Regions from separate parts of the Homo sapiens genome. Here regions 2, 3, 4, 5, 6 and 7 are each linked to region 1. The links are contacts of gene promoters, found by promoter capture Hi-C in blood cells and fetal thymus (Javierre and others, 2016). All regions are on one chromosome and are shown on one strand. The core of a region is centred on a gene start or on the middle of the fragment in contact, and the rest is flanking DNA. Distances in the headings are between cores, read along the strand shown. Region 1 holds the start of ANXA1 (annexin A1). Region 2 overlaps OSTF1 (osteoclast stimulating factor 1). Region 3 overlaps OSTF1 (osteoclast stimulating factor 1). Region 4 has its middle 6.2 kb from the start of CARNMT1. Region 5 overlaps CARNMT1-AS1 (CARNMT1 antisense RNA 1). Region 6 overlaps CEMIP2 (cell migration inducing hyaluronidase 2). Region 7 overlaps CEMIP2 (cell migration inducing hyaluronidase 2).

What was found. Contacts are between HindIII fragments. The CHiCAGO score rates a contact against its expected background, and 5 or more counts as called.
Region 2: a fragment that was not itself captured here is called in contact with the fragment with the promoter of ANXA1 in region 1 in 4 of 17 cell types (activated CD4 T cells, total CD4 T cells, non-activated CD4 T cells and 1 more); the score reaches 11.0 in activated CD4 T cells.
Region 3: a fragment that was not itself captured here is called in contact with the fragment with the promoter of ANXA1 in region 1 in 4 of 17 cell types (non-activated CD4 T cells, activated CD4 T cells, total CD4 T cells and 1 more); the score reaches 8.2 in non-activated CD4 T cells.
Region 4: a contact is called between a fragment that was not itself captured here and the fragment with the promoter of ANXA1 in region 1, in 1 of 17 cell types (total CD4 T cells). The highest score is 6.9, in total CD4 T cells.
Region 5: a contact is called between a fragment that was not itself captured here and the fragment with the promoter of ANXA1 in region 1, in 2 of 17 cell types (monocytes and naive CD8 T cells). The highest score is 5.4, in monocytes.
Region 6: a contact is called between a fragment that was not itself captured here and the fragment with the promoter of ANXA1 in region 1, in 3 of 17 cell types (M2 macrophages, monocytes and non-activated CD4 T cells). The highest score is 6.5, in M2 macrophages.
Region 7: a contact is called between a fragment that was not itself captured here and the fragment with the promoter of ANXA1 in region 1, in 1 of 17 cell types (monocytes). The highest score is 7.9, in monocytes.

What each region holds. Positions count from the first base shown.
Region 1 is chr9:73,150,019-73,153,463 of GRCh38, forward strand. ANXA1 (annexin A1) reads left to right here and starts at 1,847. Exons shown (of 13, transcript NM_000700.3): 1 at 1,847-1,906. The HindIII fragment of the contact is 9,458 bases long and covers 1-3,445 here.
Region 2 is chr9:75,145,302-75,148,746 of GRCh38, forward strand. OSTF1 (osteoclast stimulating factor 1) reads left to right here. Exons shown (of 10, transcript NM_012383.5): 10 at 1,382-1,964. The coding sequence ends at 1,440. Among named protein-coding and RNA genes, the nearest start is that of OSTF1, 59 kb to the left of the region's middle. The HindIII fragment of the contact is 1,004 bases long and covers 943-1,946 here.
Region 3 is chr9:75,092,074-75,095,518 of GRCh38, forward strand. All of the region lies in intron 1 of OSTF1 (osteoclast stimulating factor 1), which reads left to right. Among named protein-coding and RNA genes, the nearest start is that of OSTF1, 5.3 kb to the left of the region's middle. The HindIII fragment of the contact is 1,544 bases long and covers 479-2,022 here.
Region 4 is chr9:75,032,820-75,036,264 of GRCh38, forward strand. No RefSeq gene overlaps it. Among named protein-coding and RNA genes, the nearest start is that of CARNMT1, 6.2 kb to the left of the region's middle. The HindIII fragment of the contact is 6,453 bases long and covers 1-3,445 here.
Region 5 is chr9:74,954,052-74,957,496 of GRCh38, forward strand. The region is part of intron 1 of CARNMT1-AS1 (CARNMT1 antisense RNA 1); the gene reads left to right. Among named protein-coding and RNA genes, the nearest start is that of CARNMT1-AS1, 2.8 kb to the left of the region's middle. The HindIII fragment of the contact is 4,014 bases long and covers 1-3,445 here.
Region 6 is chr9:71,687,831-71,691,275 of GRCh38, forward strand. CEMIP2 (cell migration inducing hyaluronidase 2) reads right to left here. Exons shown (of 24, transcript NM_013390.3): 22 at 2,262-2,416. Among named protein-coding and RNA genes, the nearest start is that of CEMIP2, 79 kb to the right of the region's middle. RefSeq lists an enhancer at 2,145-3,344. The HindIII fragment of the contact is 756 bases long and covers 1,494-2,249 here.
Region 7 is chr9:71,743,733-71,747,177 of GRCh38, forward strand. It overlaps CEMIP2 (cell migration inducing hyaluronidase 2), which reads right to left. Exons shown (of 24, transcript NM_013390.3): 3 at 2,469-2,609; 4 at 1,286-1,847. Among named protein-coding and RNA genes, the nearest start is that of CEMIP2, 23 kb to the right of the region's middle. RefSeq lists an enhancer at 102-966. The HindIII fragment of the contact is 3,308 bases long and covers 265-3,445 here.

The DNA.
Region 1 (3,445 bases), core at 597-3,096:
ACAAATCCAAACATATAAAATAATTCCATTCAGTTTATGGCACTGGTAATAGCAGCAACAAAGCAAAATGAGACTATACATGTTTTCTAGGTTGTTATATTTTATAAAAAGTAAGTGGAATTTTTTCTTCATTTCACAAGAGCATCACTGTGCAGGAATGTTCCAATAGTTCCATTACCAGAGTTAGGAATACAAACGCAAATTAAAGAAAAAAAGAAAACCAGATTTTGTATAATCATCTTATTCCTTCTCACCTGATGACATAAATATGGTATTAGAAAGTTAGTCTACATCTGTCAAGATCAATTTGCAATAATATCAATTAACTTAACTTGTTAGCAGGTAACTAATTAATTTTCAACTTACACATATGATAGTAAAAACATATATTGACATTTTCTTAAATATTTAGATTAGATGATCATCCTACTTCAGGATATGTTGACTTCATTGATATTGGCATCGAGCACTTAGAATGTATTATAAAATACTGCCAATCTTTAGAAAGTATTTTCATTAACTTCCTAAACTTCATGTTTTTTATGTGAAATATCTATGAGGAAAAGAGGAAAAAGAACAAACCACTAAATGCAGCATAAATTGAGCCATAATGCTGTGAGATTTTACACCTGTGCACTTTAATGGAAACATCATATAATACTTTGTAGGGTTTAAAGAAGAATGAAAATGAACCACTATGGAAGTTACCAGAACCAATTTTCCTCCATTGGGTGGGAAATTTCTTATGGAATGTGTTCTGTAATAGTTGCTGCTCCATTAATCCTTTCATTTTATAGGTCTAGTTCCTTGTTTTGGTGTTCAACTAGTCTACAATGTCAAAGATGTGTATCAAAATGTATATATAACTGATCTATATTACAGTTTATATATATAGTTCTATGTAACTGACTCTATTTAAAAGAATTAATGTAGATAGGCCTTCTGATGTCAATGCTTTTATTGAATGTCATAATGATCAAATTTTTGGCATTACCTTTGTTCAAAATTTTGAGCCAATCTGGAACTTTATTACTTCTATATTTCTTATTTATAACAACAAGCTATATCTAGGAACAAAAGTCGTTTATTTTTTAAGGCAAGAAAAATATAAATAGAAAATTATTCGGCACTGTGTAATGTTAAAATTTACAAATATATGTTATTTCTCCATTGTCACAAGAATTCTAGTGGGTAGACAACTTAGATAATGCTCCTATATACAAAAGTAAAAACAGCTAGGCATGGTGGCTCACGCCTGTGATTCCAACTCTTAGGGAGACAGAGGCAGGAGGATAGCCTGAGCCCAGGAGTTTGAGACCTGCCTGGGCAATATAACGAGACCCCATTCTCCACAAAAAGCGGGGGAAAAAGACAACAAAACAAAAGTAAAAACAGGTTCAGAAAAATTAAGTATGTCCCTAAAGTCACAGAATAATAAGTGATGGAGGTGGAATTCAAATGTAATATTTTGTTTGTTGGTTTGTTTAGTTTTGAAGGTAACATACTTTTTAGTCTACAACCTATTTAACTACAAAAGTGTGCCAATCACTGGTATTAGGATTGGGGCAGATGTATACTCTGAAAATAAAAGTGCAAAATAAATATCCCATCTGGAAATAAAAGTGCAAAATAAAGAGGGAGGAAAAATCAGCCCTTCCATTTCTTTTCCTTTGTAATGCCAGTTGAATTGGTTTAGTGAGTAGTTTTGCAAGACTTGTTTCACTTTGTTTTTGGACATAGCTGAGCCATGTACTTCAAACAGAAGGCAGCCAATTACTAACTTCTGGTTGCTAGGTGTGGCTTCCTTTAAAATCCTATAAAATCAGAAGCCCAAGTCTCCACTGCCAGTGTGAAATCTTCAGAGAAGAATTTCTCTTTAGTTCTTTGCAAGAAGGTAGAGATAAAGGTAAGTCTTGGTTTTCCTTTTAGTTAGTTTTGGTTGTTTTGAAAACTTTTCTCATCACTATGTTAAATGTTACTGCTTCTACAGGATTTATGGTTAGTTGCATTTAACATGATAAGTCATTCATAAATCTTTCTGTAGAATTACATTGGATATTTATATTTTAGGAATCACAAATTACAATATTTTTGTTCTACTTAGTTAACAAATACAAGTAAAAATAAGATAAGTTTGCTTAATACTGGCTCATTGTACTCTTGGTAAGTTACCATGAGAAAGAAGGGAAGAATGTGCTTTCCCTCTGGTAGCCTTAAAAGAATGTGTTTTTCCTTTCCTTCCCCTTGAAATATTTCTTCCCAAGAGCTGTGTGTTTTACAGAGAAATCGTGATGGGGGCTGCTTTTTGGGGGCAAGAACAAAAGTGATAGGAGTGGGCTGCAGGGAACTGTTTCAAAATAGTAGGACTTTCATAATTTATTTTCTTCTTTTGTAAGGAAAACAAGATAGATTCAGACCTCAAAGTGCTAATCATGCTCTTTGTAATAAACATTTAAAAATATATGTTATATTTGCTTATGCTATTTAAAATAAGAAGGTCCGCTTATTACTTTTTTCATTTAAAGAGGGTGTGGCCACATTCCTTTTCTTGTAGGCTCTGTGTCATATACAGTCTTTTCAAGTGCTGGCTGGAAAACCTAAAAAGAAGGGAAATACTTTCTGGGTAGTGTCAGATACATTATCCTAGGGGAATGTCAGTGAGGCCCTCCAACAGCTATTCCACTTGATTGTTGCATGAGCTAATGGCCATAAAACTCCTTAGAAAAGCACAAAGCAAAACTAAAGAAGAGTATTTACTAGTGTTGGATATATTTGTAAAAGTGAGATTACAAATCATGTATCTGGCTATTTTTTTCTTAAACATGTTCCTTCAAGAATTTTTCTGTTCGTTCATTTTAAATATTTATTAAATGTTCTGATTTCTTATGTTCACTGCTAGCTAATTAACAAGGATGGAATTTTTCTTGCCTTGGTTATATCTAAAAGATTGTAAAAACTTTGAGAAAGCAATGTTGCCCTCTTTCCACAGGAGTATTTTGGTAGCTGTAAGAGAATGCACATTGCAAATGACTCAAATGTGGTAAAATGTTGGTTTCATAATTCTGAAATGGCCTCTTCCCCAAAAGTGACAGTAACACCCTAGCTCCAGGCTCAACCACATCCAGCACATAGCCAACATTTAACAGATGTTGACAAAATAGTTAATAATAATATTATTAAGGAACCAGCCAGAGTTTCATGCTTATTAAATACTTTTTCAACCAGAAGGTCTGCAAAGGTTGATTTCTGAATATGACGTTAGCTCTCTCTAGACCTATTAATTTACGACATTTCAAATCAGAGGTAAACCAGCAGACCTATTATTTTTCAATGATAAACTATAAACAGTTTTTTGAAGTCAACTATTTCCTTTTCCTTTAAAATTGGACAGAATTTCATCAGGAAGCTCAGAACAATCCAATTTATATAATGCCTTCCTTCATTA
Region 2 (3,445 bases), core at 195-2,694, 2.0 Mb after region 1:
TCAATCTATCCATCTCTTCACCTACCTACCTATCTACCTACCTACCTAATCATGTATCTTTCTTGGTAGTAGAAGGAATAATAAATCATATAGAATATTGTGTTCTTTTATCAGGGGCACATGATACCTGGTTGTCACTCTTCCTGTGATGTGACATCCATTGATGATCGTTGCCTAGATCTGTTACTTCACTAAACGGCACAAAATGATGATATTCTAATTAAATCACTTCTTTTTGAGTTATTAGCTGGAACATTCTATTAGGAAAAGTTTTCCCTCATCAATTGTTTTGTTACGCAGAGGAACAGTTAATGTAGCAAGGGCAGGATAAATGCTTGATTTTTGACCTTTATTTAAGAGGTTTTAAAATAATAAGCTGGTCTCTGTCATCCTCCAAAGGGTGACAGATGAGTTCTTTTTGGTGTGCCTTGAAATATTTAATGTGCTTTAATCCATTCCAATTAGTAGCTTTATCAATAGCCCATCTTTGGCTAGTGGAGGCCTCTTTAAGTTGAATCTCAGACCCTTTCACGTGATGCTGTCTTTGTTAGGATGCTTGCTTTATGACATGACTAGGGTTCTAGGTCCATCCCTTACACTTCCTGCCCCATACTTGGAACCGGTCATATGTATAATAAGCTTCAGAGATGTGATACTTAGAGATCATGAAGATCTGGGTGCTGTGACATATATTTATTGAACTTCAACAATGTGCTTGTGTTTGCATTCTGTTTTTCCCACTAAAATTATACTTGGGCTAATCTGTTGCTATAGGAATTTGACTAGACAGTTGAAGGGGTGACTGTGAAAGATCAGATGTCTTCCTTTTGAGTCCTGTTCAAGTTTGCTTGAACATTTGATGGGGTCCAGCTCTATTTTAAAACTTTTCCCCCCCATTTCAGCCTTTTGCTTTATTGTCGGTGTTTTCTACATTGAAATGGAAGCTTCTTTGTTTTCATTCTTTCTTTTCCTTTTTCCCCTTCGGTAGTTAACGTCCTACCTAGTGACTTTGCCTTTAGGCAAGACCTCAGGCTGTCACTGGGAGAGGAGGTTGGAAGCTCAGTTGTCAGAGTGGAGTGCTGCTGGTGGTGTATCATGTTGGTCATGGTGCCTGTGGCTAGGCCTTTCTGTTGGAAATGGATGCATGGCACCTAGGACCAAAACTTCTGCATGACTGTGGAACGCATCATCAGCCTCTGTGGCAACAGAAACTTAATGGTTAGGCTGAAAAGCAAAAGCAGAGAAAGATCCTCAGGGAAAGTACAATCCCTGGGTCAGATGGAAGATTCTATTCTAATTTAAGAGCTTTGAAAATGAAAAAATAAAATCTGAGCAGTTTATAATTTCCCTATTTTGCTTTTTTCCCTCCTCTTTCTTTCAGATGCAGTTCGAACATTAAGCAATGCCGAGGACTATCTCGATGATGAAGACTCAGATTAATTCCTTTCTGGAGCTTTGAGATCTAAAACTTCTGTTGCTTTTGCCATTCCAAAACTTTGTCTTTGCCAGAAAAGTGTTGGTAACTATAAAGAAAATTATATATGAACACGGCAGTGTTGCACTGTGTTTGAGTAGAACGTGTAAATGAATTGTTCCCACCTTTGGTTTGCCAGTAAGTGACTGGATTCTTGGCACATTTATGTTCACCAAAGTAGAACAAGAAGATATTATTTCTATTTATCAAGCAAAAGGAATTTTAAGATTTTTTTTTTTCTTTAAAAACAAATTAGGATTTTTTTTTTTTTTTTTTTTTTAGTTAAAATGCTTTACCTCAATGGTTGAGATATTTTGAATGGATTTTTCAAGGGGGGGAAATGCTTATTATAATAATAAACCAAAATACTTAACAGAAAATTGTCAGCTATTCTGACAAAAATAAACATTTTGAGAGACTTTATTTCTTTTGTCCGTTTCTGTGGTATCACTCATTGTCGTTAAGTAAGTAAAGCTTTTTATATTTAGGTAAGAACTGATTTTATTTTTTAAATTATATTTTATATTTATTAGCACAGAAGAATAATGAGAGCCACATTTTAGTTCAACTTCTTGTGTTAGCTTTGATCAAAGTCAGGACAATAATCATTGAGAAGGTGCATGTCTAATAAAATAGGTAAATTTAATAATTGTGAGACTTCCAGTTTTTATCTCCAAGGTTGTATTTAGAGTGGAGAAACCCAACAACTCATTACAGTTTCGCTAAGATTTGAAAGGTTAAAAAAATTTATTTCCTTATGATAGATGCCATACTTTTCCATATGGAGTAGTCAGGAACCATGAAATTTTTTGCATTCAGTTTTTTTAATAACATTTGTTTTCTCACAGTATGGATCTAGTTCATAATGATTCAGATTCTTTTGCTGAAACACAATTAGCATTGCAGGGAGCCTTCTGTACTACTGACATGACACTTCATTTGGCGTTCTAATTTTGTATCACTACAGTGATGATGTAAAAATGACATGGCCATTGGAATTTGCCTAGAATCCCGGCCCTAGGTCCAAAAGTATATTTTGCAAGATGATTTCAATGCTAATTTCAAAAAACACGTTGATGAAGAGAAGGAAATGTATGAAGAAGGAAGTGGGTTAGCTCAGGAAATGAATAACTGCCTCTATAAGAGTTTATTCTGTGACTGTTTGGTTTTTCACTCTGTGGGAGCCTTGAGAAACGATACCCAGAGAAGCCCATTTGAGGTCTTTCAAACACCCTCAACTAAATTTTAGTAGAAGAGAATCTGTACCACTAGTGACAACAAAGTATGAACACAAATTCTGGCACCAACAAAAGAGGGCATTTTATTCTTAAAATAAATACGTTATTAAATTTGATTTAACCAGTTGTATTTCTTCTTAAACATAAACTTGAAGATATGAAATTCTTCCTGAAATTGTATCTATTCCTATAGATCCTTTAAGATTTTTCTTTAAAATGGGGCTTGTTTCTTAACAAAAAGCTTTTAGAGAACCCTGTAACTTTTTGTTCTTCTATACTTTGGGCTGGGGTAATTAGGATGGATTTCAACTAAAGACTCTTAATTTTTAAAACATGGGCAGAAATAATACAGCTTGTGTGGCTATAGACAATTTTTATCAAAATACCATGTACTTGCTTTAGATATATTATTTGTATATCTGAGGGAAAGAATAGTGGAGGTCTCACTATCATTGTTTTTAACATTATCAAACTTAAGAGAATTTTAGAAAGTTGGACAACTATAGTTTTTTTTTGAAGATGAGGAGAGTGCTTAGCTATGTGCATGAATTTTTGGTAAAACAGGACAACTCATTTAGTTGTGGCTGAAACTCCACTGGAAATTTTTTTGGTTTGTTTCTTGTTTATTCAGCCTGGCTAATCTGAGCTTTCTCAGAGATTGTTTAGTGCTGAACTCAGCAACAAAAATCAGTTCTAGGAATTTGCCACTGCTCTGACTGTGCAGAGGAGAGCT
Region 3 (3,445 bases), core at 1-2,500, 1.9 Mb after region 1:
CAGTAGACAATACTAAAAGGAAAGGAGCTAGGTGAGTAAGGACAAAGGACTTGCTGGAAGATATTAAAAACAAGGGACATTAAGCTATAATGCAGGCTAATAGCATCTTTCTGGCTGATCAGCACATCCCCAACAGGGGGCCGATTTGTGGAAGGAGGCTGCCCAGGGAAGTCCCGGGCAGATGCTAGTGGGAGACCCTGGCCATTTTTGTACCATCTGGAGGATAGATCAGGGTTACCTTGTTTGGGTTTTTGGCCATATCCAGAATTCATTTGCTAAACAAATGTTTCTTAATAAATGTAGCTCATATATTAGGCCCTGTGCTAGACACTGGGGTTCCCAGGAACAATAATCTATGGTGTCATTCACGAGGGTCCTGAGTCTAATGGGGAAGACGTATGTATCTACAGATATTACCTAGAGTATCCCATATTTACAAGTGGATGGCTGATCTCATTCATTTTGTTTTTTTTAAAAAAGCTTGTAAGTAAAAATATAATTTTTTTATTTTTAGAAAATTTAGAAAAAGGTAAACAATAAATATATAACTAAAATATAGGAATCATCCCTGTCATCTACTGATAATCACTATTTACATTTGGTTGAATATTCTTTCAGGTTTCTTTCTTCTTCACATCCATTTCATTTCAAAAAAGAAAATAAAAACAATTACCCTCAGAACAGCGTCTCAGCTTCCGTTTGAAAAGTCTTGCTGTTGGTTGGCATATGTTTCCAAAAGGCTATACGGTATTGCCTGCATTCTGCTTGAAAAATCAATTCTGTCGCAGTTTGACCTTTCCTTGCTTACTGATTTTGTTTCTGTAGAATCACTTTTGGCCACACAAGGTCTGTCATTGAAACTTTCTCCCTTAACTGTTATCTGTGCCACCATGGTACTCTACTAAGATGTGTTGCAATTTCGTGGTCTTCAGCTCATTCTTTATGATACCCTCTTTCTTTCTTTCTTTCTCTCTCTCTCTTTCTTTCTTTCTTTTTTTTTTTTTGGAGATGGGATTTTGCTATGTTGACCAGGCTGGTCTTGCTCTCCTGTGCTCAAGCAGTCTTCTTCCTTCCTGAGCTTCCAGAGTATCTGGAATTATAGATGCTCACCACCAAACCTGGCTGAGACCCTCCTTTCCTTTTTCTGAATGAGTACAACCTCTTAGTTTTACACATATAGCATTTATGTTGTTTTCAGCCACTCTCAGAAGCCTTGCAGTTCAATTAGCGTGAATCTGTCTGGCTTGTTAGAGTGTAGAAGTGTAGAAAACAGAACTTTTGTTCTTGTAAAATCTTTTTAAAAATATTTTATTCTGAGAGTAAGAATGGGCCAAAGGATACTGAATGAGATTTGGGCTGTAGAATCATCTCATTCTAAGCAGGTTTGGTAACTATCTATTGTAGTTGGAAACCTGGTGTCTGACCTTGGCCATTTTTTCCAAATGGCTTATTGATTTTGGTGGTGAAAGTAAAGCATAAATATTTCATGTGCCTTGTGAAAATAAATTCATGGAACTTTGAAGAAGCAAATGTCAGTGTTTCAGGTTTTTTTGTTATTCAGAGTAAAAACATCATAAAACTTAAAAGACATCACACGCATGCTGCTTAAATAACATTTTTGAGAAAAAAAGGTTTTTATCTAAAATGAACTTAATTTTTATGTATTTTTTACCCCAACAAAGGAATTAATCAAAAGTGAGGTGAAATATGCACGTGAATAGTCTTCTTTTATAAACTTGATACTTTTTATACCTGTTGGCAGAATAAAGCCTGAGAAACATCTTGAAAATTTCACAATGATGATGATGATGGGAATGGTTAACATATATTTGGCCCCATATGTCAGGCACTGCACCCAGCACTGTGTATGCTCTGTCTCCTTTAATTATTCTGACTTTCCTATCAGGTGGGTGGGTCCTCATATCCCTGTTTTATGGATGAAGTAGTACTTAATGAGGTCAAGTAAACTATCTAAGATCTCAAAGCTAGTGAGTGGTTGGTGTGACCTGGAAGTGGAACAGAAGCTTTAATTGAGTCCATGCATATGAGCAGAGAAACCTGCCAGAGATGTTATTGGGTTGGACCTGCTTTTGTTGGACAGTCATTTTATTAGCTTATGCAGTTGTATTATTGGTATTTGGTTTGTGTAACTGCCCTCTTTCAATGGATCCGTATTAGAGCATTAAACTATGCACTTTTTGAGAGTGGAACAGTCTTTTATTTCTTTGTAACTGCACAGCCACTAAATCGTTATGAATGACAGATAATGTAAAACGCTTTGATACAAAAAAAAGGTGGGTTTTTTTTTTTTTCCCTGAAAGAAGGTGGGGGTGGACTCAGAGACTGTGATTGGGCTTTTCTTGTAGCTTTACTACAAAGTAGCAAAGGCTGGAGGTTATGTGCTTCTGATAAGCATTCCTCCCTTCTGGAAATACTGGGGTCCCCTCCCTTGGCGTTTCAGCATTCCCACAATTTGACTTACGTGACTAGTGCAGTGAGATTTTCTAATACACACCTTATACCTCAGGGCATAACAGAACCCATTGCCAAAGTTGTCCTCACTTGCTTAATGGACAGGGAAAGACTACATTAAAAAAAAAATGATACAGGGACACCTTTCAGTGGGCTGATATGAGTGAGGTGTCAAGATTCTCTTATCAAATTAAAGGAGTTTCAGAAAAATGTACAGGCCAGGCACAGTGGTTCACACCTGTAATCCTGGCACTTTGGGAGGCCCAGGCAGGCAGATTGCTTGAGCCTAGGAGTTTGAGACCAGCCTGGGCAACATGGTGAAACCTTTTCTGTACAACAAATATGAAAAAATTAGCTGGGCTTGGTGGTGCGTGTTTGTAGTCCCTGCTACTTAGGAGACTGAGGTGGGAGGATCACTTGAGCCTGGGAGGCCAAGATCGTGCCACTGCACTCCAGCCTGGGTGACAGAGCGAGACCCTGTCTCAAATAAACAAACAAACAATACAACACAAATATTAGAACCAGGAGAACTTCCTGGTTCTTTTAAATAACTACATAGTATTCTGCTGAGCTCATTTAACCAGACCCTAATTAACGTACTTCTGGATTGTTTTCAATCTTTTGTTATAACAAATAGTCTCCCAATAGTATTGTTGTTGCTTACACACGTAAATCCATAGGATAAAGTCCTGGCAGTGGGATTTGTTGTTTCAGAGGGTAAGTGCACTGCTGTTTTCATAGAAATTTCCAAATCGCTTTTCAAAGAGGTCATACCAGTTTACTTCCCTACCAAAAATGTATGAGCATGTCTTAAACAGAAAAATCTCAGTGCTTGTGATAGGAGATGTTATCAAAGTGTGATCAGAGGGCTGGGAAGCATGGGGCAAGGAGCTTGAGGCAGCTGAGAAGATGTTACGGAAGAGGAGTAATCTAAGCAGAGTTCCCAATGCTGAGTAAGAGTTTGCTGGGCAGC
Region 4 (3,445 bases), core at 283-2,782, 1.9 Mb after region 1:
GCGATGTTCCTGCCTCAGCCTCTGTGAGTAGCTGGGACTACAGATGTGCACCACCACACCTGGCTGATTTTTTTTTTCTTTTGTGAGACGGGCCCTTGCTTGGTTGCCCAGGCTTGTTTTGAACTCCTGGCTTCAAGTAATACGATTACATTTATGTAGCATTTTCAAAATGACAAAATTATAGGGATGGAGAACAGATGATTAGTCGCTTGGGGTTGGCGGTGGTGGGGAGTAAGGGCGGTGTCTATGTTTATGAAAGGGTAGCTCAAGGGAAACTTGTAGTAGAACTGTCCTGTATGTTGACTATAGCAGTGGTCACACAAATCTACACACGAGATACAATTGCATAAAAATTAGGGCGTTTCTCTCAGCCTACTTTGGCTCAGGAGACCGCCCCACAAAATATAAAATAAAATTTAAAAATTAATATACACACCAACCCACACGCAAATGAATACCACTCACAAATTCATCCATCTGGTGAATTTCAGATAAGGTCCATTAATTATATCAATGTTAACTCACCAAACTCCATGCTCTATTGTCTGAACCAGGAAGACTCAACTTGTTTTCCCAGTCATACCAACGAAGTTACTCCCTCATTATTTTCAAGGATGTTTCATAATCAATAAATGTTTGTAAATAAGGGCTTTGAAATGTGCAAGTCTTCTCATCTATTAATCCTAAGTATATATACATATTTTTAAACATTAACGTTTAGCAGCTACTAAATATATTTTTATTAGCCTCACATTTCCCAGCTAAATGCCTCATTGAAAGTTTGTAATATATATTATGTTGGTTTTAACTGACCTTTTAACTGCCTTGCCTAGTAGACTGTATGTCTGAGGGCAGAAGGCATATCTGTTTTGTTCATGCCTGTATCCCCAGCATCTAACAAAGTGAGATTTTTCTATAACCACTTTTTGAAATGAATAAATGAATTTACAAGTGCCAGACACTGCACTAAACCCTGTAATATATCATTACATATAACTTAATACAATAGTATCATCTTTTTTGTTTTTTGTTTGTTTTTAAACAAGGACTTGCTGTGTTGCCCAGGTTGGAATAGCTGGGACCCCCCCGACACACACTTTTTAAAAAACCAGTGAGCACACTATAATTAAGTACCTTGCTCAAAGTCATACAGCTGTTAATAAGTAAAGCCTCAATTTGAAAGCAAGCCCAGGAAATGATTAACCACTGGATCTACTGCCTCTGCTGAAGTTTGTCTTGTCTATCTTTAAATAAGTTTCATGAAGTTGTTTTACTTTTGGAAATCTTATTAATTTGTAAATAATTGTTTGCAGTGATTTAGCATTTTAGTTGGGTAAGAAAATATATATTTTGCTGACCAAAACTGAAAGACTAGATTGCCCACAGAGTATGTTTATAGAGAAAATAAACAATTTCTTATGCTTTATGTTAAAAATCTGGTTTATATATCAACAATGACTCAAACTACTGTTGAGCTAAAACCTCAAGGAAAAAGGCAAAGGCAAGTAGGGGCTTTTTTCACTTAATACAAGGGCTCCCTTATAATTCTCATCGTCATTCTAGGATTTATTATTTTTACTCTTGGGATTCCTCTATTAATTCTGTTCTTTATGCAAAACCTTTGCATAGAGTTCTAAGTCTTTGACTTAGATCTAGCTAGTTTTGTCTTTGTATTCTTTGTTCTAGTCCCTGGATCCACATGAAGGATATTATAATTTGCTCTTAAAATAATAAGAATGCTCTCCACTATGGAGCTAGGGATATGATTCCTGTAAATGGTCACTTTGTGCCTTTGGTGAGTTTTTTTATTTAAATATTTTGTACGATAATTAAATTGTTTTTTGTCTTATTACTCCTGGTAACTCACAGAACACCTTTAGTGAATTTTTATATTCTTTCTTAATCACAGGAACCAGAACCCAGTTGCAGTGTTTGTATGCACATAGTTTTAATGCTCTCAATGGTTATTCTCAAACTTGGAATGAAAATTCTATTATTGTTGTTAATTTTTGAGGGGGTGGTTAAAAAGTGAAGTGAAATGGATTTTGTGTAACTGATTAGTGCTAAGTTAGTTTACAGAAAAACATCACAGGGTATGTACTGCTAGGAATAAGTCTCTCTTTCTAGGGATCCTATAATGGTCCCTACAAAGATATCTTCCCATCCCATAACCTTTAAATCTTTTTGTTGCTGTTGGGGAACATTTCAAGTTAAAAGAATACACTGAACTGACGTTATTCAATGCTTTCTCATGCATGCTTAGGGTATTAGCCAAACAACTGCACCCAAATAAAACATTTTGGGAAGATATGTATGTATGTATGTATATATGTATATATGTATTTATGTATGTATTTGAGACCAGGTCTTGCTCTGTTGCCCAGCCTGGAGTGCAGTGGCATGAATATGGCTCATTGCAGCCTTTACCTCCTGGGTTCAAGCCATCCTCCAGCCTCAGCCTCCCAAGTAGCTGGGACCACAGGCATGCAACATGATGCCCTGCTAATTGTATTTATTTTTTGTAGAGGCAAGGTCTCACTATGTTGCCCAGGCTGGTCTCCAATTCCTGGACTCAAGTGATCCTCCCATCTTAGCCTCCCAAAATGCTGAGATTAAAGGTGTGAGCCACTGTGCTTGGCTGAATTATGTATTTATTACTTCCCCAAGAAGCATCAAAATAGTAATCATGGGGGGAAATATCAGAATTTGGTTGGACTTCCTCATATTTATCTTACAGATTATTTTTGTTATTTTAAGTTACTTTTAGTGGCAAAGATGGGAGTACCACAGGATGTTCAGAGCAAAAGATTTGTGTTTTGTCTGAGACCCTCACACAAGTAAGAAAGATACTTTCTACTTCCACCTTCACTGCAAAGCCAGTCTCCAAGATCTTGGCCTGTTTTTATCATCTGGCCCTGATGTTTTCTGAAATTATTAATAAAGGGTAAGATTGGGCTATCGTATTTGAATTAGCAGAATCACTCTAACACCCTATCGTGACTCCTGTCTCTCCATTTAAAATCCTTTCAGTCTCTGGAAGGTTCCCCTCTACCCAACGCTTAATGGGTGATACCTGCAGTCCACATTTGCTACTCAAAAGTATGGACCAGCTCATTTATATCTCCTGGGATACTGTTAGGAATGCAGTATCTCAGACCTCACCTACTGAATCTGAATCTGCATTTAAACAAGATCCCCAAGTGATTCACAGGCATGTTAAAGTTTTGAAAAGCACTGCTCCAGAAACAAAACAGAACATATACATCTCAATCCTTTTACTGATAGATTAAACCCTCATATGGGCCAGGCGCGGTGGCTCACGACTGTAATCCCAGAACTTTGGGAGGCCGAGGTGGGCGGATCACGAGGTCAGATGGAGACCATCCTGGCTAACACAGTGAAACCCCGTCTCTACTAAAAATAGAAAAAAAAATTAGCCAGGCAT
Region 5 (3,445 bases), core at 207-2,706, 1.8 Mb after region 1:
CCCAAAGTGCTTGGTTTATAGGTGTGAGCCACCGCATCTGGTCGTATTTACTATTTTAATAGTTTGATAAAGACAGTAACCAAGTAAGCAGAAATGGAAGGAAGAAAATAAGACTATTACCAGTGCTTTGAAGGGAAAAACTATCATCCTCTGTAGAAAAAGTGTGCAAGAAAGATAATTCTATTTTAGTGCTAGGTACTATCTCAGTACTAATTTACCCTGTACCCCTGCATCTCAAGGTGGTTGTGAGAGGACAAGTTAATTATTAGTTATTAACAAGCACAGAAATGTACCAAGTTAGGGTAGTAAGCAATAGCTTTTCTGTTTGGTTTTTACTTTTCTTGTTTGAAATTGGTAACCGGCCGGGTGCGGTGGCTCACGTCTTTAATCCCAGCACTTTTGGGAAGATGAGGTGCACAGATCACCTGAGCCCAGGAGTTCCATACCAGCCTGGCCAACATGGTGAAACCCCATCTCTACAGAAAATACAAAAATTAGCCAGAGGTGGTGCCTTGCACCTGTAGTCCCAGGGAGGCTGAGGTGGGAGGATCGCTTGAACCCTGGAGGCAGAGGCCAAGATTGCACCACTGTACTTCCAGCCTGGGTGACAGTGTGAGACCCTGTCTCCAAAAAAAAAAAAATAAATTGAAAACCCGTCTGTCTCAAACAGAGGAAGAGTTTTGCCATTTTTAAATCAGCAGGAAAGATCTTAATCGTAGTCATCAAGTGCTGTTTGAAAGGTTTTGAGTACCCCCAAAATAATAAGTTTAGCTAATGGTTGGTTCTTTTGTGTTCCTCTTTACAAACGCTCATTTTTTCAAAATTGTGAAACTTATCATATATGCAAAAGGTTGTATAAAATACACATGTAGTTAAAAGAATGATAGTAAGACATACAGCATTCTGTTTCAGAAATAGAATACTACCTATACTAGAACATGACAAGCTCCCTATGCGTCCCTTCCCCACTGGCACATACCCTTCCCTTTCCCTCACTCCCGGTAATTACCGTTTTACATGTTGAGTTAATCATTCCTTTGCTTTTTAACTCTTCCATTTGTATGTCTGTATGTATATTGCTAAATAACTTTTTTTTTTTTTTTTTTGAAACGGGGCTTGCTCTGTTGCCCTGGCTGGAGAGCAGTGATATGATTACAGCTCACTGCAGCCCTGACCTCTCAGGGGCAAGCAGTCCTCCCACCTCAGCCTCCTGAGTAGCTGAGACTACAGGTGTACATCACCACACCCAGCTAATTTTTAAAATTTTTTTGTAGAGCCAGGGTTTTGCCACGTTGCCCAGACTTGTCTCAAAGTCCTGAACTCAAACAATCTGCCTGCCCTGGCCTCCCAAAGTGTTGGGATTACAGGCATGAGCCACCACACCCAGCTTAATATATTTTCTGAGACCAGGTCTTGCTCTGTTGCCCAGGCTGGAATGTAGTGGCGTGATCACTGCTCACTGCAGCTTCAACTTCCTGGCCTCAAGCAATCCTCCTGCCTCAGCCTCCCAAGTAGCTGGGCCCATGGCTTGTGCCACCACACCCAGCTAATTTTTTATTTTTAGTAGCAACAAGGTCTCACTATGTTGCCCAGGCTTGTTTTGCCGGGCTTTTTTTTGTTTTTGTTTTTAAAACAGCTTTACCTAGGTCTAAATGACACACAATAATGTGCATATAAAGTGTACAATTTGACATTCATACACCTGTGAAACCATAACCACCATCAAGATGATCAAAGTTTTGAGAGCAGTCTTTGACATCTTGTTCTTTAGGAGTGTGTCAACTATACTTGGCCCTTTGTTCTTCCATAATAGCATCCTCTGTAACATTTAGTTACCCTTTTGGAATTTTGGTTATAATTGCATTGAGATTATAGATCAATTTGGGAAGAATTATTATCTTTACAATACCAAGCTCATTTCCTGTTCAAGAATATAACTATTTAAGTTTTTAAAAATCTTTCAATAAAGTTTTATATTTCTCAACATAAAGAGCTTATATCTTTGTTAAGTTTATCCCTAGGCACTTTATAATTTTTGTAGACAATATTCTTTTTCTTTTTAAATAACATTTTCTGAGTTTTTGTTGCTGCTCTGGGTTCTTTTTTTTTTAAGGCCCCAGAAGTAGAATTTGAAATTAGTTTACCCTAAGTTGTAAGTAGTACCAGATCCACTTGTTCAAGGAATTTGTCCATTTCATTCATCACATTTGTTGGAATATTTTCTTAGTTTCTCTTTTTCCCATTTCATTGGCTTCTACTAAATTTGGATTTACTTTGCTCTTCTTTCTCTAGCTTCTTCTAATAGAACCTAGGTCACTGATTGTAGTCTTTGTTAGTTTCTTTTTGGAGACAGAGTCACTCTGGCTGGAGTGAAGTGGCACGATCTTGGCTCACTGCAGCCTCTGCCTCCCAGGTTCAAGCGATTCTCCTGCCTCAGCCTCCCGAGTAGCTGGGACTACAGGTGCATGCCACCGCACCTGGCTAATTTTTGCATTTTTAGTAGAGGTGGGGTTTCACCATGCTAGCCAGCTTGGTCTCAAACTCCTGACTTCAGGTGATCCACCCACCTCGGCCTCCCAAAGTGCTGGGATTACAGGCGTGAGCCACCGTGCCCAGCCGTCTTTGTTAGTTTCTAAAATAAACACTTAAAGCTGTAACTTTCCCTGTAGCACTGCTTGGGCTACATCCTACAAATTTTGGTATGTTGTATTTTTATTATCTTTCAGTTTGAAATACTTTCAAAATTTCCTTTCTTGTTACTCTACCTCCTTCCTATCGTTATGAATTTCATTTTAAGTTAACCTATTGGTATTTACTTAGCTATACCTCTTTGAATTAATAATGTGGTTGCCATAAGGACTGTTCATATACATCTTTATTTTTTCACAGTCTAGTTCGAGCTAACATTGTACCACTTTATGTAAAACATAAATACCTTGCACCCCTCCCCCTGCCCTATCTAAATGCATTTTTTATTGATGTAATAGGATCTTCTACCTATTCTACATATCCCATAATTTTGTGGATAATAACTCAGAAGTCATTAGTTACAACAAAACAACAAAGAAGGGAAACTTTTTTTCTTCTTACTGAAAAAGGAATACACACAAACTTATTCTGCTTATCTTTAAACTTGTGTGTTTCAGACTAACTGAAGCCTCACAGCAGTGTAGGGTGGGGAAGTAGTTTAAAATTTTTTAATTGCCAGAACTTTTACATATCTCATTTGATCCCAAAAACTTTGGGGCAGATTATTGCCAGTTTAACAGATAAACCTCTCCTCTGAGCATCAGATCCATGTGACTTCTCATGAGTCTACCTTAACCACCTTATTTAAAATTGCAACTCACTCTACATTTCTCCTGACTCTTGATTCCCCTCTTTTCCCATAGCATGATTACTTTCTAATCTATTATATATTTCACTTACTTATTACTCTTATTGT
Region 6 (3,445 bases), core at 622-3,121, 1.5 Mb before region 1:
ACTCCAGCCTGGGCAACTATTTTTGTTTTCTTTTGTTTTTTTAGAGATAGGGTCCTTGCTCTGTCACCCCAGCTGGAATGCAGTGATGCAAGTATAGTTTACTGCAGCCTCAAACTCTTGGGCTCAAGGGATCTTCCTGTCCTAGCCTCCTCAGTAGGTGAGACTACAGGTATGTGCCCACATACCCAGATAATTTTTAAATTTTTCATAGAGACAGGGTCTCATTACATTGCCCAGGCTAGTCTTGAACTCCCGGCCTCAAGCAATCGTCCCGCCATGGCCTCCCAAAGTGCTGGGATTATAGGCATGAGCCACTGTGCCTGAACTCTTGGCCGGTATTACTGAAACAAAAATTTTCAAGAACAAATCAGTGTTTAGGGGGCTCTGAGTAGCTCTTATTAATTAAAAGGTAACATTAGATTGATTTATTTTCAGAGTCATCAAGGATACCTACAGGAAGTTGAAATTTGTGTGGTATGTCTTAATGTGGGTCTCGATGGTTCTTAAGATTAAGTACCTTAAGTTTCATGCTGGTATGGGTTCTTTATGGTAGTCTTTCTTTCTTTCTTTTTTTTTTAGAGACAGAGTCGCGCTCTGTTGCTCAGGCTGGAGTTCAGTGGTACAATCTTGGCTCACTGCAAACTGCCTCCTAGGTTCAAGCAGTTCTCCTGCCTCAGCCTCCCGAGTAGCTGGGATTATAGGTGCCACCAACATGCCGGCTAGTTTTTTGTATTTTTAGTAGAGATGAGGTTTCACCATGTTGGCCAGGCTGGTCTCGAACTCCTGACCTCAGGTGATCCTCCTGCCTCAGACTCCCAAAGTGCTAGGATTACAGGTGTGAGCCACCGTGCCTGGCCTACTGTAGTCTTTCTAAAGCAGTGGTGACACAATCTAAAATTAGTGCAGCAGTCTAAGCACGGCTACCCTGCAGACCTGACCTTCTTCAATAGGTCAGAATTACCCATAAGATCATTTACAGGTCACCCCGCAACCCTATACACATAGACACGTGCTCAGTCTCCCTAGAAGTCACTGCCAGTTGCTCCATACCTTCTTAACACTTTGTTAAAATGTTACACACACACTGAATTTTTGCAAACGAAACCTATCTGCATAACCAGAGGCAGATCAAGAAACAGCATTACCAGTATCTTAAAAGCCTTTCTGTTAATGAGTTGGTTTTACCTCTTAAATCTATGGGGTACCTTGCAGGACTACCATGTTGTCCTAAATACTTGTGGTGAGATTTATGTCCTGGATTGTTTTAGGGGAAGTGAGTGCATGTATTTTCAACATTAGGAAAAATCTTTAAATCCTGCAAGAAAATTGAGGCTGTACAAGTGTCTTAAGCCAGAAGACAGAACGACATATATACATTTAATGTTACATCCAAATAATCCAGTGACTTCATAGAATTTATTGGCATCCGGTTCTATAAAGCATAAGCTATTGGAAAATGATTCTAAAGCTAGATAGGCCTTTAATTTGGGGAAAGCTTAAGTTCCTTCCTTAATGGTTCCATTAAATGAAAGCGGGTGTATAAATCAACATCTGCGGCAAAGGCAGAAAACACCCTGAGTTCATCTCCTTGCCTCCAGGCAGGGTCTCACCAACCCAGAAAAAGAAAGGTTTCTCTCCTGTGCAGCTTTCTTCAGAGACATCAAAGAAAACCAATCAGACTAGTGCTCTGTAAGAGCGATTGCACACTCAGCCACTTCAAAAATCAATTTACTCTTTTCCAGTCATTTCCAAGTGACCCAGGTGATGACTTCCTGTATCACAATCATAGTGCAATGCTGTCCAAGACCGTCAGTGCGACAGAGGGTTGCAAAGGTAAACTGCCTGGAAAATCACTTCAAAATAGTAATAAGCCTTCTGAGGGAGTTGTGGACAAAGTATATCAACTTAATACTAAAAAGTATAATGCTCTGATATTTGTTTTACGAAACTCAAAAAATAAATAAAATAAAAAGTGGGATAGTAATGTTCCAAATAATGAGCTCTTTTCCTCTGAAGAGCCTTCCCACCATTTTGCAAAATGTTGCAACATCCAAGTTCTGCCACAGGTAAGCAATGGCTTGTCAATGATAAGCAGCTTAGACGACATGGGCGTCAATCTGAGGTAGGAGAGGAATGAACACCTTGCATAGTGCCCTGAATGTCCAGAGAGTAAAAAATCGGACTTGACCAGGCATTATCAGTTTGGAGCACTCCACATCTTTAAGGTGGCTTTTCCCTGTTACAGCACAAGCTTGACCTACCTTGGAGGGATGCCTGTTTTTAAATACTCTTCAATGCGACTGACATCAGCAAGAGGAAAAACCGTTTTTTCCGTCAAGCGGAATGGAACGCTGCACGGATCCACAACAAGGAGGAGGACGCCTGCACTTCGGAAGGTAAAGTCAGTGCCATTGACCTGAGAATGCAAAAACATCTTCTGCTGTCATCATCATTTTGAGAACATCTGCAGGATGACTCATTTTTCCGGCCCTTTCCCTGTGTCTTCTAAACCCATGATTCAAAGTATATTTCCAAGATTCAAATTGTGTGCTTCACTTGCTTTTTCCTCACCATCTGAAATTGCGTCTGTGTTCCTAGGCACTGCCTATAGATTCTGCCTTGACTGATGTTTGCTGACTGGAGAACCTGCTTTGAGCAAGGCATGGTGGCCCCCACTCAGCTAAGCTGGGTGACTTCACTCTGAAGTGTTCAAGGTATTCCTTCTTACACACACTCTCACTGGGGTCAAAGCTTTATAAGTCAATGATAGATGGCTGCCTCTGTACTTCAGAGTAGATGGCTTATTGTCATATTGGTTCAGAAAAGAATACACACACACACATATAAATATGTATCATGCCTTGATCCACAGGAATTCCACGTTAGTTTATATTTGTAGTTTGCTACAAATAATAGCTCTCCTCTGAGATCAAAATGACAAAGTGATAATTTTACCGGAATTTAAGCTACAAAGTACTACTACATTTATTTCACAACTATTGTGAGCTAAATTTTCAAAGTCATCCTCTTTAAATCAGTGGTTTGTGACCTTTTCAAGAAAAAGGAACTCCAGATATTTCCAAATATCATTAATTTCTCAGCCAAAAATGAAGGAGCAAAACAAAACAACTAAGCACTAATTAAACCCATAGGCACTGTTCCTGTTTATAAGGTGTAAAATTATAAAGTATGCTAAAGGCTAACAAAGGAGAAATGTTCTTACCACTACACCTGTCCATGCCTGGGGAAATTATAATATTTAAATTTTACTTCTAATCACTTTTGATCTCACTGGTATTCAAAATGGCACTTTAAGGCCAGGTGTGGTGGCTTACGCCTGTAATCCAATCCCAGCACTTTGGGAGGTTGAGGTGGGTGAATCACCTGAGGTTAGGAGTTCATCCTGACCAACAAGGTGAAACTCCATCTCTACTTAGAGATACAC
Region 7 (3,445 bases), core at 669-3,168, 1.4 Mb before region 1:
ATGGGTATCCAGCACTTAGCATCTCCTAAATATCCCCTACATGAATAAAAGCCATTTCTAAAATGTTACAGACTGTTTTTCTTCACTATTTTTTGTCTTTCTAGCCTGTTCTAGAATTGCTGTAGGTAATACCCCATTCCAACAACCTACTATCAAAGGAAAAAATAGTAACTAGATCATTACGGCATGTCGGTTTTGAGGTACTCTTACTTTTTCCACCACAGATATTCCCTGACTTTACTAAAAGCATTCAGCAGAATTAAAAGCTTCTGTCTTTTAAATGAAATGTTAGGTCGGCTACTTCCCCTAGACTCAGAACTGCGTTAGGAAATCACAGTTAATTAGAATATGGCACAAGAAGGCTGGGTGTGGTGGTTCATGCCTATGAAGCCGATGTTTTGGGAGGGTGAGGCAGGAGGATCACTTGAGCACAGAAGTTTAGACCAGCCTGGGCAACAAAGTGAGACCCCCTCAACTACAAAAAGTTTAAAAATTAGACAGGTGTGGTAGCAACTGTTTGTAGTCTCAGCTACTTGGGAGGCTGAGGTGGAAGTATCACTGGAGCCTGGGAGGTTGAGGCTGCAGTGAGATACGATTGTACCACTGCACTCCAGCTCGGGCAACGGGGCAAGACCCTGTCACTAAAAATAAAAATAAAAGGAATAGGGTACAAGAACCATAAATAGCAGAAATGAATTCTACTATCTGGATGAATTTCCTAGCCCTTTAACTTTTTCCTTCCTCATATATGCCAGGGGTCCATAGACCTGTGCCAATCAAACATGCAGATTCCAATCAGCCTGCAAAGGAGTCCGAAAAAAGAAAAAGAAAAAGAAAAACTGCATATTCTACCCCCTCAGCCTTTTAAGACAGGTTTAGAACTTAGCATGAAATTCTGCCCTAACCTTTAAACTCATTAAGTTGCCTCAATTAGCCTGAGTTTCATATGATCTTCAGAAGGTAACGAAAGGAAGAAGTATCTTCAGAGGCAAATTGTCCTTAAACTGCCTGACTGTTTTTCAGTACCACACTTCTGCTCTCAACTTTTCACAAGTCTGGCACTCCAGTTCACAAAGGGCTTTGTAAACCAAAGCCAATGAAAATAGCTTTTGTATGTGGTGTCCTATCCTCCAGCCCCATGTCTCAAAGCTACCAGACATGCAAATGGTAGAGTGGCCCTTCTGATGCCTGAGTCATGCTGTGGCTGTGGCTCCTTTCCCCACCCTCACTCTCCTCTCACACAGACACGGACTCTGATAGGGATCTGGGAAGAAGGTATGCCTACCTGTAGCCCAGTCCTTGGATCAGTTCACTTCCCAACCGTTCCTGGATCATCTGGATGGTTCCTTGTAAGAGACTTTTAGCGGCTGAATCCCCGACAGCTATGGCAACAATCCGACCTGGATCCTGGAATCTCAGAAACTCCTGAAGCCGCCTGCTCTCATTGCGGTATTCATGGGTATCAAATCTCTCACTTTCCAAAATTTTGGCCGTGTCTTGGTCAATGACCCTCACATTGAGGCCCCGGGAAAAGTCCTTTTCAAAGGTATAGGACCCAAAGGGCAAGCCTGAGGAATTCAGGGTCCTTGCCAACAACGTCCACGATGCCTTCCGTGCCCCATGTAACTCCAGTGTCCCGCCAGCTTCCACACCAATAAACTTTTTGCCAAATGTTGGCATACTTTCACCTTCATCTGACTTGCCATACAAGGTAATTGTCGCTTTGGATTTATAGCGGCATTTTTCTGCTCCAATATGAAGCGCCCCACCATCCTGGATCAGGATGTAATGAGTCCTCAAAGTAATATTTCTGGATCCATCTTTATTGTCCCCAAATACAAGCAGTCCTGCAGGGAACACCACCCTGTAAGCCAACTTCTAAATCATCTTTCTGAGATACAAGGAAATAGATTTCACCTTAAGTTAAATACACTTCCGCAATTAGGTCGGAAAAAAGAATTCGCTAAGAATCTGCTTAGAAAACTAAAGGGAAAAATGAAGAGTTCATATCTTAATATACTCTCAATGCCCATGACTGTGAATTTCAACCTACTCACTTTAGAGGTTAAATCATTTCTCTTAAAAATATCTAAGAGTCTACAAATCTGAATCTTATTTTTGTATATGTTTACTCATGTTAACTCTCAGAATTGTGACAAAATCACTCTCAGAATTGTGACAAAAATTTAGCTCTGAGAGATCACCTCTCTGGAACTGTTTCCTTGTCTATAAATCAGGGGTCTTGATTTGAGTGATACCTAAGGTCTAAGCTCTTAAATTCTATGTTTTTTATCTCTGGATAAATTCTCTGGTTTTATCTCATGATCTTTCCAAATCTCCATGGTTAGAGTGACACCACAAACTAAAGCCTATTCTGCCTAAAAATAGTCTTCTACATAAGGAACATCAAATATCCCCCACATTAAAGAGCAACCTTGCAGTTCCCATAGGCAGGAACCATTACCTACCTCCATCCTGAATGACTATAGAATGCACGGTGGCGTCTGAGGTCAGACGGAGCATATCTCCCTCCTTGATAACAACTTGCTTTGCAGAATCTTGTCCTGGATCCCAATTCCTGAGACGAGGATTTTGATCTGGGCAATTTTCTATAAACACATTGATATTCCATCCAACCCATTAAAATGCAGGAATAATATAGCCGAATCTAAGCACTACCATTATTTACTGCAGATCTGCAAAAAATGTGCTAACATATGTTGATTTCCTGCCATTAGAATGGAAATCCCACGCCTTCCCACCAGCAGAGAACCATCTTACCCTTTAATTTGTCATCACATTTCCATTTTAAAGTTTTACCACAAAACTAAATTGCTAGCATCTAGTTCAGGACAAACTTCACCAAAAAAAAAAAAAAAAAAAAAAAGTTTCCCTGAATCATCTACTCTGGAAATAAACCAATAGTAAGAGGCAAAATTATACATTCTCTTGGGATTCACACTAGAAAGCTGTTTTAGAAAAGAAATGTGTTCACAACATCCTGGTAAATCAAAAATGAAAATTGCTAAATAATACATTGATCAGGTCTTCACAAGTTCCTTCTTGCACACAGTGAATGATGAAGTAAGTACTGATAGCACCTCTCTCCAAGACTGAGAAACATCACTATCTTCAGCCATGTGCACTCTCCCAACAAAATGAAAGAGGCAAGTGGCTAAAGACATAACTTCTCATTTTCAGAGATGAGGAAATTACAGGTTAGAGAAACCAAAGATTACTTAGCAAGCTGAGTGATACGCAAGTTTCCCCTTTTAGAAAATGAGATTATTGACTTGTAGTGTTCCTTTACTGGAATTAGAACTTGCCTCTTGAATAGGTATTATAATAACAAAAATATAACAGTATTTAATTAAAATAGCCATAGCTATTTAATGTATGAAAACTTTAAGGTCCGCCATAATTTTGAAGAGGGGAGAAAAAAAAT